Regions from separate parts of the Homo sapiens genome. Here region 1 is linked to region 2. Evidence: promoter capture Hi-C in human tissues and cell types (Jung and others, 2019). All regions are on one chromosome and are shown on one strand. The core of a region is centred on a gene start or on the middle of the fragment in contact, and the rest is flanking DNA. Distances in the headings are between cores, read along the strand shown. Region 1 overlaps MICU1 (mitochondrial calcium uptake 1). Region 2 holds the start of PLA2G12B (phospholipase A2 group XIIB).

Region 1 (2,700 bases), core at 102-2,601, 540 kb after region 2:
TTCCCCTGCTGCCAGGCAACAGTTGAAGAGAAGTCTGGGGTTTGCAATAGGAAGATGCTTTATTAGAGCAAGACAGGCATAGTAATACCTCTGAAAGGTACCCAAGAAATAGGTAACATGGGCCACATGTAGCACAGGGTTCAGAAAGAATTGCCTTGTACCTGGTATAAAAATATTAATTAAAATTGTTTTAAAACTAAGCAGGAGAGGCTGGGCGCAGTGACTCACGCCTGTAATCCCAGCACTTTGGGAGGCCAAGGTAGTTGGATCACCTGAGGTCAGGAGTTCAAGACCAGCCTGGCCAACATGGCGAAAGCACATCTCTACAAAAATACAAAAAATTAGCTGGCCATGGTGACAGGTGTCTGTAATCCCAGCCACTTGGGAAGCTAAGGCAAGAGAATTGCTTGAACTTGGAAGGCGAAGGTTGCAGTGAGCCAAGATTGCTCCATTGCACTCCAGCCTAAGCAACAGAGTGAGACTCTGTCTCAAAAAAAAAAAAAAAAAAAACTAAGCAGGAGATTGAGCAGAGGATACATGACAAGAATGGTGAGAGGCATGGGATATAAGGAAGGAAGAAGACTGTTTTTTTCAGTGGGCCATAGACAGAACTTGGGCAATTAGATTGGCTTCTGGTAGACGGATTTGCTGTGACTGATTAAAAGGCAGGAAGAGGGAATCATCCATTACAGTGTTTGCACTCATCATGGCCTGTCAGCATTAGATATCTCGCTTTACAGCTGACTCCAAAGGAAGCTACATTTTCCTTGTCTCATCTACTCTGACTGCTTCATATTTTTTAACAACTTTTTTTGAGGTATAATTTATATACCATAAGTTATCCATTTTAACTGTACAATTCGGTGATTTTTATTAATTTTAGTGAATTTTAGTAAATTTGCAGTTATGCAATTATTACTGCCATTCAGTTTTAGAACATTTCCATCACCCCAAAAAGATCCCTCCTGCTAGCTTTCAGTCAATCCTCATTTCTACCCTAGCCCCAGGCAACTATAAAACAGCTTTCAGTCTCTATAGACTTGCATTTACTGGACATTTCATATAAATACAATAATAAGGTAGTCTTTTGTGTCTGGCTTCTTTTACTTAGCACAATATTTTTATGTAGATGCTTATATTAATAGTTTATTATTTTCTATTGCAGAAGAGTAAATAGTATTTTATTTACTACATTACATTTTTATGTAGATGCTTATATTAATAGTTTATTATTTTCTATTGCAGAAGAGTAAATAGTATTTTATTGCTTGGATATACTAAATTTTATTTATCCATTCACATTTGGATTGTTTCCAGTTTTGGGCTATTAGGAATAATGCTGCTGTGAACATTGCGTACAAGTCCTCCTGCAGACCTGTGTTTTCATTTTTGTTGAAGATTCCTAGGAGTGAAATACCTGGGTTGTATGGTAAATTTAATTTTTTGAGGAACTGCTAAACCGTTTTCCAAAGTGGTGGAACCATTTCACATCTCCATGTGAATATACGAGAGTTCCAGTTTCTCCACACCCTCATCAACACCTGTTATTGTCTGTCTTCTTTATTACAGTCATTCCAATAGGTGTGTAGTGGTATATCATTGTGATTTTAATTTGTATTTTCCTAATGATGCTAAGCATTGTTTCATGTACTTATTAGCCATTCACTTGTCTTGTTTGGTAAACTGTCTATTCAAATCTTTTTTTAAATCAGGTTGTTGGTCTTCCCATATATTGAGTTATAATAGTTGTTTATATAATTCTGGATACAAGTCCTTTTTTTTTTATTTTTGAGACAGGGTCTCCCTCTGTCGCCCAGGCTGGAGTGCAGTGGCACAATCTCAGCTCACTTGAACCTCTGCCTCCCAGGTTCAAGCAGTTATCCTGCCTCAGCCTCCTGAGTCACTGGGATTACAGGTGCCCACCACCACAGCCTGGCTAATTTTTGTACTTTTAGTAAAGATGGGTTTTCACCATATTGGTCAGGCTGGTCTCGAACATCCAACCTCAGGTGATCCACCCGCCTTGGTGTCCCAAAGTGCTGGCATTACAGGTGTGAGCCACTGCGCCCGACCTGGATTCAAGTCTGTTACCAAATATATGATTTTCAAGCATTTTCTCCTAGCTTGTGATTTTTCTATTTTCTCATTATTTTGAAGCACAAATTTTTTAAATTTTGATGAAGTCTAACCAATCAGTTTTTTTTCCTTTATGGATTGTGCTTTGGGTGTCATCTAAGAACTCTTGCCTTAGTCAAGGTCATGAAGATTTGCTCCTATGTGGTTTTGTTTTGTTTTGTTTTGTTTTTGTTTTTGTTTTTTGTCTTTTTTTGAGACAGAGTTTCACTGCTGCCCAGGCTGGAGTGCAGTGGCACGATCTCGGCTCACTACAACCTCCACCTCCTGGGTTCATGCAATTCTCATTCCTCAGCCTCCCGAGTAGCTGGGATTACAAGCACATGCCACCATGCCTGGCTAATTTCTGTATTTTTAGTAGAGACAGGGTTTCACCATGTTGGCCAGGCTGGTCTCAAACTTCCAGGCTCAAGTGATCTGCCCGCCTTTGCCTCCCAAAGTGCTGGGATTACAGGCATGAGCCACTGTGCACTGTGCTCAGCCTCTCCTGTGTTTTCTTCTAAAAGTTTTATCCACTGCTTTTTTTTTTTTTTTTTCTGGAGACAGAGTTTTGCTCTTGTCGCCCAG
Region 2 (2,700 bases), core at 52-2,551:
CCTTCCTGGAGTCTGAGTCTTCAGCCAAACACATTTACTGAAAATGAAGAAATTAATTCATTTAATTCATTATTTTCCATGGGGCTTTCCAGACAAACATTTGAGAAAGGAGCTAAATGATTCATGTGGTCCATAAAGGTATCATTTTTATAGACTGGTGATTATTTTATTATTACTATTTTTTTGAGACAGAGTTTCGCTCTTGTCGCCCATGCTGGAGTGCAATGGCGTGCTCTCGGCTCACTGCAACCTCCGCCTCCTGGGTTCAAGTGATTCTCCTGCCTTAGCCTTCCTAGTAGCTGGGATTACAGGCGGCTGCTACCTTGCCTGGCTAATTTTTGTATTTTTAGTGGAGACGGGGTTTCGCTATGTTGGTCAGGCTGGCCTCAAACTCCTGACCTCAGGTGATCCAAACGCCTCGGCCTCCCAAAATGCTGGGATTACAGGCATGCACCACCATGCCCGGTCCTAGACTAGTGATTTTATAGATGGCATTTCTTCACACGACTAAAAGCAGTCTAAACTGAAAACGATGCCAAAACACTAGACTTCAGTCAACAGTCTTAAAAGCCTACACTCCCAAATAGACTATTTGATAAACCCTCTGACTTCTAAGAAACTCAAAGGAAAAACACCACCAGGAGAGCCGAGTGCCCCCAGAATTGTCCTTGGACCATCTGTAGATCTTGTCTTATGATCCACTTATGCTGAGTGTAAACAGAGATACTGCTGTAAATAGAAGCCAAAATGTCCCTGCACTCAGATGGCTACATCTGGGAGCTCTGCCAAATTAGAGGATTTATGCGTCAGAGCCAGGTGGGTTCCACAGCAGAAGCTGGGGTCTCAAATCTGAACTTCTGCTTAACACACACTTGGTACCTACTCTGACACTATCGTGACCCTTGGTAAAGTGACTATTAATTCCTACCGCTGGGGCTTTCCTGGGCCCTGTACACATCCTCCTGACTCTCCTTGGAGACTATGTAGGTAGCTGGCTGAGGGGTGTGGCTAGGACCTTCGGTCAAGCTCTTCTATCAAGAGGCTGGCCCTGAAGAGCCACACTTGTAACTGATCAACAGCTTAACAAGCTGGTCGGGGTAGAACTCCGAATCCTTCACCGTTCCTGCGTCTCAGAAGCTGGCTAACATCTCCCTCCCTCCAGGGTGGTAGAATCCACTTTGAAATGTTCTCTCTCCCTGGCCCTCCCACTCCCTAACCTTTGCCCTCTTTCTAATTGCCCTGATCTCATCCCAACCTCCATAGCTATGTTTAAAGTCCACCTCTGGGGAACAGACAGATTGAATGTTCCAGATAATCCCTTTCCCAGTCCTGCCTGACATCTGGGTAGGGGGTTTGTCCCTGGAATTCTGGGACACTGGCTGGGGTTTGAGGAGAGAAGCCAGTACCTACCTGGCTGCAGGATGAAGCTGGCCAGTGGCTTCTTGGTTTTGTGGCTCAGCCTTGGGGGTGGCCTGGCTCAGAGCGACACGAGCCCTGACACGGAGGAGTCCTATTCAGACTGGGGCCTTCGGCACCTCCGGGGAAGCTTTGAATCCGTCAATAGCTACTTCGATTCTTTTCTGGAGCTGCTGGGAGGGAAGAATGGAGTCTGTCAGTACAGGTGCCGATATGGTGAGTGTGCGGTTTCTCTTTCTGTAAAAACTGTTGCTGGTGGACCCATGGACAGCCCCAGAGAGGTCACGATCTGTCTTGCACTTTTTCCTGTTATCCACTTAGAGCTGCCAGATTTAGCAGATAAAAATGTAGGACACCCAGTGAAATGTGAAATCCAAATAAACAACAAATAAGTCATTAGTATAAGTATGTCCAGTGAAATATCTGGGACATACTTATCCTGACAAATTCTTCGTTGTTTATCTCAAACTCACATTTCACTGAGCTTCCTGTATTGTATCTGGGAAACCTTCCCTGGGCCATTTTAATGAGTTTGTTGTGAGGCAGTTCTTAGGAAAAAAGGGTACCTGGGGTGGGAAGAAGGAGGGTGGGTATGAGAGGCCTCTGTGAGGAGTTCCCAGGGATGAAAACTGAAGCCGAACATTCAGAGAAAAATCTGCCATGGGGCAAAACCACCTCCTCAGCTGCTCTGTGCTCAGCTTGGAAACAAATTCTCCCTTCCCCCTGCTGCAGTTCACACCGTCCTCCCAGCTCTCAGTCCCTGACTGGCATCAATTTGCTGGACTTTCTCAAGGGAGCTGTCCCTGCCTGCAGCCTCGGCAACGACAGGCATGCTGTGGAGAGGAAGGGTTCGTGGCTCACCAGGGATCCCGGGGCTGTCCCCTGGACTTGGCGCCAGATGCAGATTTGTGAGCTGGCAGGAGCACTTCCCCTACCTTGCCTGAATATGGCTGGGGGTACACAGATATAAGGTGCACACCTGGCTGCCGGCACAGAGCCCCTGGTCCCAGGGGCCCTGGAAGTTAATGTAAGGGGAGCAAAATGTGGAGCCCCAGGCCTTGAAGCTGGGTGGCATCGTGTAATTGCCAATGCGCATGAAAACGTTTTCCAAAGCATGCACAGTCTCAGGTCTCAGGTAGCATTAGTTTTATGGTTTAATTTATCAACTATCTCATCAAGGGATTAGAAATGAAAATGGTGAGTCAATTTAGCCTAACAGGAAAACACATTTGAGAAATATTTTCTCCAAATACTCAACAGAGAAAAAGTCAGCTTTGAAGAGAT

Evidence for each region. Contacts are between HindIII fragments. The study calls those that stand out against the background at their distance.
Region 1: a fragment that was not itself captured here is called in contact with the fragment with the promoter of PLA2G12B in region 2 in 2 of the 25 tissues and cell types used here (H1 embryonic stem cells and lymphoblastoid cells).

What each region holds. Positions count from the first base shown.
Region 1 is chr10:72,412,824-72,415,523 of GRCh38, reverse strand. All of the region lies in intron 9 of MICU1 (mitochondrial calcium uptake 1), which reads left to right. Among named protein-coding and RNA genes, the nearest start is that of DNAJB12, 59 kb to the right of the region's middle. The HindIII fragment of the contact is 4,207 bases long and covers 1-2,700 here.
Region 2 is chr10:72,953,407-72,956,106 of GRCh38, reverse strand. PLA2G12B (phospholipase A2 group XIIB) reads left to right here and starts at 1,301. Exons shown (of 4, transcript NM_032562.5): 1 at 1,301-1,632. The coding sequence starts at 1,422. The HindIII fragment of the contact is 10,065 bases long and covers 1-2,700 here.